Linked DNA regions of Homo sapiens: region 2 is linked to region 1. Evidence: promoter capture Hi-C in 16 types of primary human blood cells and fetal thymus (Javierre and others, 2016). All regions are on one chromosome and are shown on one strand. The core of a region is centred on a gene start or on the middle of the fragment in contact, and the rest is flanking DNA. Distances in the headings are between cores, read along the strand shown.

Region 1 (5,777 bases), core at 17-2,516:
GCAATCCAGTAAATGAGGCTGTCAAGAAACAAATAGTCAACCATTAAGCACAAAATTACAGAATGAGATATATACGTAGTGGAGCAGGTACTTGGAAAAAGAATAATGAGGAGAGAGGTTGATTACCTGGACCAGGGTGAGTTGAAGAAGCCCTTGTAAGAAAGTGACATTTGAGACCCGAAAGATGAGAGAATTGGATGAGGTATGGTGCTGATGGCCAGGCAGAAGGGGAGAGGATTTGTCATTCTGAGGAATAAGAATAATTTCTGTATAATTGGAGCCAGTGCAGATGGGATGGGGACCAAAATTATAAATATGAAGGGCATATAAATATAATATAATACATAAATATAATTATAAATATAAAGGACAGGGGCTTATGGAAGGAGGTTTAATTTCCTTTGAAGATGGAGCCTTAAGTCCCAGGTGCATTCTGATCTTGTTTAAGATCAGATGCACTCTGAATGATTCTCTTCCAATTATGGGCAACTTTCTCCTCCAGAAACCTTTTTATATCACCTGGGTAGCAAGGGGATCATCTAGTGACCGTTAGACTTCGCATAGATGAGCAGACACAAGCCTAGAGAGGGACATGTGATCACCAATAGTTTCTCAGCCAGTAATAGTTGTACAGCCTTGGAACAAGTCACTTTTTGAGCCAGCACTATCTGATAGAAATTAATGGGAACCACAAATGAGAGCCACATGTGTAATTTAAAACTTTCTACTAACCACATTTAAGAAGTAAAGAGAAACAGGTAAAATTCATTTTATAATATATGAATTTGACCCAGTATATCCAAAATATCATTTCAACCTGTAATCAATGTAAGTCTTAGAAATCTGGTGTGTATTTTATTTACACTTATGGCACATCTCACTTCGGAGTAGCCATATCTCAAGCGCTCGGTAGCCATATGTGGCTAGTGAGTAAAGTATTGGATGGTGCAGTTGGGAGCGTCAGTTTCCTTTTCTGTGAAATGAGGATAAATCACTGGAAGCTCGTGAGAGCGCACACGAAACACCCGGCACTCCGCCCTGGACACTAGGGACGCGCAATCAAGTTTGGTTTCTTCTGGTCCCTGCTCTCCCCTCCCGCCCCTCCTCTAAGTCTCCGCCCCCTTTCCCCGCCCCCTCAGGCTCCAGGCGGAAGCAACCCTGTTCCAAATGCAGCGCGCTTTACGGCGGCGCGTCCTTTTACCGCGGTGTGGCCGGCTCGCTTGTCGCTCGCACTTTTGCCCTATTGGCTCTGCGGCTCCGCTCGCCGCACTTTACGGCAGTGTGGCTGGAGCCGCGGCTGACGGGCCCGCGGTCTGGGCGTGAGTGCAGGGAAGTGGAGTATTTGCTGGGCCGGGTACCATGGACGTGGGCGAACTTCTGAGCTACCAGGTATGAGGGGCAGGGAGGGCCGAGCGACCGCGTTCTCACCTGGGCAGGGGTCGCAGGAGCCAGAGCCCTTTCATCTCACCTCCTCTCGCCTCACTCCCGGGCCCTCTAACTTCTCATGCCACCCGGGGTCTCAGCCCCTCGTTTTACTTTGCTCTCCGAAGCCCTCCTGGGCCCTTTCGATTCATCCCTTCTCAAGACCTGAGCCCTTCACCTCCTCTTCCTCACCCTGGGGCCTGGTTCCCTGAAACTCCTCTGAAACCCCAGACTATCCTTTTTTTCACAACCATGTCCTCTCAGCTCTCATGTCCCCCCAGTCATTGAGGTGATGGTGGTGGCGGCGGTGGGAGTGCACTGGTCTCACTTGGATTTGATCTCCAGCTTCTCCACTGACTGGCTATGTGGCTTTTGGACAAGTCATTCCCCCCCTCTTTGAACCAAGTTTTTGTATCTATATAGTGGAGACACTAATAACTGCCTTAGTAGGGTTGTTTGAGGACTGTACCAACTGATATGTATGAAAGCTGGTTTTAAAGTGTGGAAAGCTGTGCTTGTGTTTACTGCGATTTGCAGGAGATGTTGGGAATTCTAGCATGGAATGAGTTTCTAGGAATCTTGCTCAGGGTCCCCCTTGCCTAGGAAACTTGTGGGGAAACTGTATGGGACCTAGAGAGCAGAAAGGGCTTGTCCAAAGTCACTCAGAAACAAGGAGCTGGAATTTGAGCTCAGGCGTACTGACTTCCACCCCAAAGTTTTTCCCCCACTTTGATTCCATAGGAGGGTCATTGCGAGGAGCAGTAGAGCTGCACTGCCGAATGTCGTAGCCACTAGCCACATAGGCTGTTGATTGCTTGAAATGTGACTAGTCTGAATTGAGAAATACTGTAAGTATAAAGACACATTTGGGTTGGAGACTAGTATGGAAAAAGTGAAATTTTTATATTGATTACATGATCGTACTGATTATATCAATTACATTGGTTATTGGTCATATTGATTAAATGATCATATTTTGGATAATGGGTGAAATAAAATATACTTAATTAATTTTTAAAATTTTATTTTATTGTTATTTAGAGACAGGATCTTGCTCTGTCGCCCATGCTGGAGTGCAGTGGCACAATCATTGCTCACAGTAGCCTTAAACTCCTAGGTCTAAGGTATCCTCCCAAGTAGCTAGGACTGCAGGCAGGCATCACTATGCTTGGCTGATTTTTAAATTTTTTGTAGAGACAGGGTCTTGCTATGTTGCCCAAGATGGTCTCAAACTCCTAGCCTCAAGCAGTCTTCCCACTTGGCCTCCCAAAGTGCTGGGATTACAGGTATGAGCCACCACACACCACACTCAGCCAATAAAATATGTTTAAAACCAATTTTAACTGCCCCTCTTGACATTTTAATGTGTTTACTAGAAAATTTAAAACAACATATATAGTTCAGCTTATATTTTTGTTAGACAGCCCTGCAGTCAAGAATAGGTGATTAAGAGCCATGAGTCTGGACCCCTAGGTTGCTGGCAGTCTCTGTTTTGCTACTAACTGGCTGCTGTAACCTTGAACAAAATACTTAATTTCTCTCTGCCTTGGTTTCTTCATCTGTAAATGGGGGACAGTGACGGTAGCTGCCTCACAGGGCTGTTGTGAAGCTGTTGAGAAATGGAAAGTCCTTAGACAATGCTTGCCAAAGAGTAAACATTCAGTAAATATTAGCAGTTATTTTCATACCACTCCCTCAGCCAAAGTACAAGAAATTGACCCTGGACGCTTAAGACATCATGGGAAAGAACAGTTCAGCAATGGGGAGCTATATAGCCAAGAGATTTTTCTTTTAAAGACAGTTTAATTGATAGTGAAAGATGAAGGGAAATAGGCAAGTTATTAAATCAGTGATTGTATGCCGGCTTGGAATTTCTAGAATGGCTAGCCCATTAAAGCTAGAAGAGTTTCATTCATTTGCTCAACAAATATATATTGAACACCTACTGTGTGCAAGGCAGTCTATCCACTGGGTATACAACACTGAATAAAAGACAAGATTCTTGCTTTTGTGGAGCATCTGGTGGGAAGTTACAAGATAATAAGTAAACAATGCATTCAGTTTGTGGTAAGTGCTGGGAAGGGAATATAGCAGAGTATGCTATAAAATTGCACTGCTTTGTATAGTAGCCACTAGGCACATGTGATTATTGAATACTTAAAATGTGACTAGTTTCGAATTTAGATCTGCTACATGTGCAAAATACACACTGGATTTCAAAGATTTAGTATGAAAATAATGTACAATATCTTTTTTTTTTTTTTTTTTTTTTTTTGAGATGGAGTTTCACTCTTGTTGCCCAGGCTGGAGTGCAATGGTGAGATCTCAGCTGACTGCAACCTCTGCCTCTTGGGTTCAAGCGATTCTCCTGCCTCAGCCTCCTGAGTAGCTGGGATTACGGGCATGCGCCACCACGCCTGGCTAATTTTTGTATTTTTAGTAGAGATGGGGTTTCTCCATGTTGGTCAGGCTGGTCTTGACTCCCAACCTCAGGTGATCTGCCAGCCTTGGCCTCCCAAAGTGCTGTGATTACAGGCGTGAGCCACTGCCCCTGGCCACGTGAAAATAATGTACAGTACCTTAACTTTTATGCTGATTACATGTTGAATAAATGATAACACTTACGATATATTGGATTAAAGAAAATATATTATTAAAATTAATGTTGCTTTTTAAAAAACTTTTAAAATGTGGCTACTAGAAAATGTAAAGTGGGCCGGGTGTGGTAGCTCATGCCTGTAATCCCAGCACTTTGGAAGGCTGAGGCGGGTGGGTCACCTGAGGTTGGGAGTTTGAGACCAGCCTGACCAACATGAAGAAACCATGTCTCTACTAAAAATATAAAAAATTAGCCGGGCGTGGTGGTGCATGCCTGTAATCCCAGCTACTTGGGAGGCTGAGGCAGGAGAATTGCTTGAACCTGGGAGGTAGAGGTTGCAGTGAGCTGAGATCATCCCATTGCACTCCAGCCTGGGCAACAAGAGCGAAACTCTCTCTCAAAGAAAAAAAAAAAGAAAGAAAATGTAAAGTTAGGTGTTTTGTTTGTGGCTTTTGTTGTATTTTTATTGGACAACACTCCTGTCGAAAATAACCCCTGGGAGTTGGGGACAGGACCTTTTACTTTATGTAATGTGGTCGAGGAAGGACACAGAGGAATGGGCATTAAAGGACTGAAGGTTGAGAGGGACCCAGTCATGTGAAGGGAGCAGAATGATGGAGGCAGCAAGAACAGCAAGTATGGACATAGGCTATTGGTAGAAGCTGGTGCAGCCTCATAGGGGACCAGAAAGAGGATCTATGTAGCTGAAACGGGAAGTGAGCAGGGGAATGGTAAGTGACAAAGCTGAAGATGTAGGCATGTGACAAGACTATGTAGGCCTTCCTTGTGGGCCACGATAAAGACCTTGACTTTGAGAGATACGGTAGATACCTTCATTCAACCCACTTGTTCATGGATGAAAGTGAACCTTAGTCTGATAAAGGGACTCACCTGAGGTTGTGGGCCAAGATGGTGGCCAGAGTTGAAACTAGAATCCTGGTCTCCTTATTATTATTTTTTAATGTTTACACATCTTACCACATTTAATCTTAATGGCAGTACTTAATATGTTAATATAGGAACCTTCATTTTAAAGATGAGGGAATAGGTATAGAGAATAAAAAACGTGTCCAGATTCACACAAGTGAAATGTACCTCAAGGATTCCAATCTAGGTAGCTTTGCTTCGTGATCATAAACATTTGTTTATTGTGTTATTCCAAAAGTATTTCATTTTGTCAATCTGACCCCTTTCCCCCTCACCAAGAGCAAATATGCCTAGCGCCTACAGGTAGATTGGGGTTGCCACAGGCTAATTTTCCTGAACTGCAAAATATTACTTGCCTTCCTTATCCTGGATCTTGGCCTTTACATTTTCTATTGTATCTGAGGGTTCAATCTAAGAGTTTTAAAATGCAAATATGTTGGTTGCACAATAAGGAACTACAATACTAGAACTCATTTAATTCAGGTTGACAACACTGAACTGAACCAGTAACAGGGCTGAAACCTCCTAAGTCTGCTACTGGAGAGCACTTTGATCTCGCCAGCCTAGGGCGGGCATGCTCATGTCCAGCTGGCCAGCCAGGAGCATCTCCTTCCCCATCGCAGGTTCCCCACTTTGGTTAATTGGCCGGCTAGAACCATTCGAGAGGTGAGAGGCCCACCCGTTAGGCACCAAAAACCAGCTCTAGGCCTTTGCTCAGCGAAATATCCTCAATTCAAGGCTAAGTTTCAGAACCCAAATTCAGAATCATGGTCTAAGGCTTGGAAAGCAGCACCAGTCCCAAAATCCACCTCAGGACCTTATTCAGGCC
Region 2 (5,563 bases), core at 10-2,509, 350 kb after region 1:
GCCAGGCAAATTTTGTATTTTTAGTAGAGACGGGGTTTCTCCACGTTGGTCAGGCTGGTCTCAAACTCCCGACCTCAGGTGATCCGTCCATCTCGGCCTCCAAAAGTGCTGGGATGACAGGCATGAGCCACCACGCTCGGCGAAACCATTTTAAAATTGAAACCTAACTCAGTCTTTTTTTTTTTTTTTTGAGACAGAGTCTTGCTCTATTGCCCAAGCTGGAGTACAGTAGTGCAATCTCGGCTCACTGCAACCTCCACCTCCTGGGTTCAAGCGATTCTCCTGCCTCAGCCTCCTGAGTAGCTGGGACTACAGGTGCCCACCATCACACCCGGCTAATTTTTGTATCTTTAGTAGAGGTAGGGTTTCACCATGTTGGCCAGGCTGGTCTCAAACTCCTGACCTCAAATGATCCACCCACCTCGTCCTCCCAGAGTGCTGAGATTACAGGCATGAGCCACTGCGTCCGGCCAACTCAGTCTTTCATTCTGAAATATTTGATAATTAAAAGTGAGTTAGAAGTTGCTCATTTTTGCAGTAGAATAAATAAAAGCCCTAGTTTCAACATTAACACTGACTGCTTATCCTTTAGGAATTCTCTTTGGATTATCTTAATTTTTACTATCAATTAATTACCCTGGTTTAAACAACACAGCAATGAAGATGGCCCATTCTTTTTCTTTTTCTTTTTTTTTTTTCCGAAATGGTATTCCCAAACCTATTCCTTAGGTGGTCTTTTTAAACATATCTACTTGACCCCCCAGGTAGATAATACTTGTCTTAATGTTTTTTTAGGAGCAGCCCAGGGCAAAAGAATTGTGAATTGAGAATTTCTTTGGTGTAAGTTAAATTCTTTTCTTTTCTTTTTTTCAGCCAAATCAAATAGAAAGCTTACTTTTCTGTATTTAGCGAATGATGTCATCCAAAACAGTAAAAGGAAAGGACCTGAATTCACTAGAGAATTTGAATCTGTCCTTGTGGATGCTTTTTCTCATGTTGCCAGGTATGTTGTCTGTTTTTTGGATTTGTTTTTAAATTCATTGCCTTTCCCACCTTTTTGTTCTTTCCTTTTCTGTGATAGCCTTTGTAAATTGACAACTTCCTACTTTACAGAGAGTTGTGGAGGCCGAATTGTGGTTTTATGTTTTGTTGAGCCCTCAAGAACTATCGAGACATGTAAACATTCTGATACATTTGAGAGATTCAGCCTAGCATTATCTTTCTTCTAGATATATTCATTTTCATTTTTTGAATTTATTTCTTGGTTATGGTATTTTCCTTGGTTTGGTTGAGTTGTCTCATCAGCTTATGATCAAAAAACAAAGCTAACTAGTAAGGGAACCTTTTAGTAACATAACTTAATAGCAAGAAATTAATTGCCAAATGCCTTCCTTTTTATTTCCTTCTGGATTTCTAGATGTCTAGTTTACTAAAAATAGTAGGCATTACTGTAACTGCAATAATAGTAATTATTAGTGTAGAAAGTAGGTGTTTGCTCTGGCTATATTGTATTAAGCCTGGTGCTGTTGTGTTTTGTGGCAGAGAGGAGTGGCACTCATACAACTAATACCATAGAAAGCATACATTGGATTAAAAGTTTTATAAATTACTTTACTTCATGTAAAAACAAAAGCTTTCTGTGGGCTTAAATTAGGTGCCCAGGAAAAGCAAAGAAAAACTATCGTTCATTAGAATATTATGTTTATAAGTAAATATATAAACAGATATTTGCAAAAGGAATTGGGAAACATGAATGGGAGACTAGTAGGTTAAACATAAATTGTTACTAGGTCTAAAATATAGTGAAAGGCCTTAAATGAGAAATGAAGTCCTGCTTTCATTGCAGGATTTGAAAAGTTTGAAGGAATAAAATTAGAAATCCAAGAGAAAGAAATGACACCTAGCTTTCTAGAGATGAAAAAGATGGTTTTTGTGGATAAGTTACATAACTGGCTCACCTTTTGATCAACATGGGCGCAAGTAGCAAAATGTGTTATTAACTTGAAAAAAATACTGAATCTTCATAACAGAGTAAGCTTAGAACAGACTACTAGAGGAGCTATCTGAAATAGACAGATTTTCTTGCTTTGATGAGATTTAGTTCACAGTTGCTTAGAAATTGATGGTAGCTCTGCCTCAGACACTATGTGAGTGACCTTGGATGTGTTACTTAACTTTTTGAGCCCAAATTTCCTAACTGGCTAAAGGGGGAGGATACCACTCCCCCTCATAAGAGTTGTGAGGGTAAAGACAGACAATATGTTTAAAAGTATGTAGTACAATGCCTGTTCCACATTTGCTCATTCATTGGATCATTTGTTTTTTCCTATATTCCAGGCACCTAGTAAAGTGTCTGGCACAGAGCTGCTGAGTTATGTAGCTTGAAGGAATACCATTTATATAGCCTCCATGTAAGTGGTGTCCCAGGAGCTGGGCAACATTATGGTCTGCCCTGACACAGTAGGCGTTCAGTAAATATTTGTTAAATGAGTTAATTAATGTTAACTCATTATGGAAGAGATTTGGTCTAGGGAGTTGGCTGGAATGATTTCTTGTAGGGATAGTAAACATAACAGTGTTATTAAAAAATTCCAGCCTGGGCAGCATAGTGAGACCCTGTGTCTACAAAAAATTTTTTAAAAATTAGCCAGGCATGGTGGTGTGCACCTGTAGTCCTAGCTACTTGGGAGGCTGAGGCAGGGGGATTGCTTGAGCCCAGGAGTTCAAAGCTGTAGTGAGCTATAATCATACCACTGCACTCCAGGTTTAGCAACAGAGCATGACCCTGTCTCTAAATTACAAACAGACAAACGATCTGTAATCTTTAGCTGTCCTGAAACCAAAAAGTAAATAGAAAGGGGTGGAAAAGGGGGTGGGCAACACCAGGGTTAAAAATTCCTTTTTTCTTGGGAACACCTTAAAAACTAGCCAGGTTTTAGGTGTCTTGGCAGATTCAGTGGCAGTGTGAGGAAGATAAACCTGGTCCTTCTCAATAAAATAGCCCGAATTCCTTTCTGTTTGCATTCTGGTTCTTTTAAGATTCTGCTTGGGTATTACATTCAGGATACCCATGTTTCCAATCTCCTTTCTTATACCCCATTATTGGGACAGAAAGTCCAACAGTTCTGCTTCAACCGTGATGCAGCTCGTCCACAGTAGGAGTAGCCTAATTAACATATACTTTCTGTGTGCTTTTTCTGTGGTCAGTTGATGAACAAAGATAGTTGACCCATTACTGTTGACTAAATTGATGAGGGATATTTTTATGATAAAAGACACCTCCACACCCAAAACAAACAAACAGTAAAAAAAACTCTCAAGTCAGAGAAAGCTGCCAAGTTCATAGGATAGATTTGATTTGAATAGCAGTTTAATTAACCAGACTGCAAACTTGCTTTTCATACAAGTGCCTTGTTTTCTTCCCAGTGAGGAGACAGCTGTCCATGTCATTTTTCATTCAACATGTATTGGAGTGCCTTCTATGTGCCAAGTATGGATCCAGACACGGGGGGAGCAGCAGTGAACAAGGCAGGCAAAGACAATTAAATGAGCAAGATACTTTCAGAGCAGGACAATATGGACATAGTAAAATGGAGTGATGTTCTAGAGTAGGATCTCACAGGTAGTGTGGTTCAGGAAGGCCTCTAAGGAAATGACATTTGCGGTAATCATGCGAAGCGGGAGCAGCTATTAAGAAAAACTTAAGGCAGAGATCATCTTGGCCTTCTAAGAGAAACAGAATGAAGGCTGGTGTGGTTAGAATATAGTGCACAAAGGGAAAAGTGATATCCAGATGAGGTCCGAGAGGTGGACATGCAGCAGTCACATACACCCTGTAAGTCTTGGAAGTTAGGATTTTTTTCTCATGGGATGTCATTGAAGAGTTTTAACCAGGGGAATGATATATTCCAATATATTCCAACATACATTTTTAAAACATCCCTCTTTAAAAATGGCTTAGTGTAGAGGGATGGATTGTAAAGGCCAAGGGAGGGGCGGGGACATGAGTTTGGAGGATATTGCTGTGATGCAGGCTAGAGGTGACATTGCCTAGGACTCAGAAGCAATGGGAAGATACTAATAGCTTCCATTTATTGAGTGCTTCCTTCGTGGGAGGATCCCCACCTCTCCAGTGTAAAACTGATAGGATTTATAGGCGTTGAGTGGGAGCTGGTAGTAAGTGAAAAGAGAAATCAAAGACGATTTCTAGGTTTTTGATGTAAGGAATGACTGATGGTGCCCTTTACTGAAGTGAAGATTGGGGAAAAGATTTGGTGGAGGAAATCACGAGTTTTGTTTTGGCCAGGCCGAGTGTGAGGTGGCTAGTGAATATTCCAAGGAGTGATGCCAAATAGGCAGGTGGATAAAATAGTCTGAAGCTCAGTAGAGACTTGATTTCTGGAGACATAAATTTGAGAGTTACCCACATGATATTTACTTATTGTTGTGGGCCCCAAGACCACTCCCAGGTTTGGTGATTCCCTAGAATGACTCACAGGGCTCATCATGTAGTCATAGTCATGGCAGTGATTCATTACAGCTAAAGGATCCAAAGCAGCAGCAGCAGCAGAGGGTGATGTGCATGCAGTACCCGCAGCAGACTGGAGCGCTCTGGGTATAAGCTTCCGAGTCCTCTCTCAGTGTTATTCCACAAACACGCTTAATTCCTCTAGCACTGAGTTGTGATGTGTATGATGTGTAACCTACCAGGAAAGCTCATTAAAGACTCTGTGCCCAGAGTTTTTATTGGATTGGTCATGTAGACACCCTCTGCCAAAATTCTAAGCTCCCAGAAATAAATCAGGTGTTCATTTTTTTTTTTTTTTTTTTGAGACGGAGTCTCACTCTGTCGCCCAGGCTGGAGTGCAGTGGCTTGGTCTTGGCTCACTGCAAGCTCCGCCTCTCGGGTTCATGCCATTCTCCTGCCTCAGCCTCCCAAGTAGCTGGGACTACAGGCGCCCGCCATGATGCCCGGCTAATTTTTTGTATTTTTTAGTAGAGACGGAGTTTCACCATGTTAGCCAGGATGGTCTTGATCTCCTGACCTTGTGATCTGCCCGCCTTGGCCTCTCAAAGTGCTGGGATTACAGGCGTCAGCCACCGCGCCAGGCTCAGGTGTTCATTAAGAACCGTATTGCTTGCACAAACAATTTAGGCCCAGTAAACCACCCTTACCAGTTAGGAAATGGTAGGGACACTCGGAAATCCCAAGTTCCCAGACCACTTCCCTAAGGGTAGCAGTCTGGCCTTCTGTGTTAACTCCTTTCTGAACCAGCTTTACATGAGGTACTGTTGGAAGTGTAGGGAATACTTAGAATTCCTGCCCTTAGTAGGCCTACCATAGGCCTGCTGTGCATGAGATAAGACAGAGTTGTACAAATTACTGTGGTTGTACTGAAAAAGTGCCATAGAACTGTAGAGGAAGAAAAGGCCCCCAAGGCTGGCTTTGCAGGGACTCAGGTGTCCAGCTGACACGTCAAGCAGCCAATTCTGTTTGTGTGTATCATATACATTTTTCACTCTTAAAGGTCAGTTTTGCTATCTGTATTGAAAAATAAAGTGA

What was found. The method cuts DNA at HindIII sites, captures the fragments that hold promoters and counts their contacts. A CHiCAGO score of 5 or more calls a contact.
Region 2: a fragment that was not itself captured here is called in contact with the fragment with the promoter of CTNNBL1 in region 1 in 1 of 17 cell types (fetal thymus); the score reaches 5.4 in fetal thymus.

What each region holds. Positions count from the first base shown.
Region 1 is chr20:37,692,764-37,698,540 of GRCh38, forward strand. CTNNBL1 (catenin beta like 1) reads left to right here and starts at 1,267. Exons shown (of 16, transcript NM_030877.5): 1 at 1,267-1,389. The coding sequence starts at 1,360. RefSeq lists an enhancer at 1,545-1,604 and a silencer at 4,588-4,737. The HindIII fragment of the contact is 18,373 bases long and covers 1-5,777 here.
Region 2 is chr20:38,039,562-38,045,124 of GRCh38, forward strand. RPRD1B (regulation of nuclear pre-mRNA domain containing 1B) reads left to right here. Exons shown (of 7, transcript NM_021215.4): 2 at 874-1,003. Among named protein-coding and RNA genes, the nearest start is that of RPRD1B, 8.6 kb to the left of the region's middle. The HindIII fragment of the contact is 743 bases long and covers 889-1,631 here.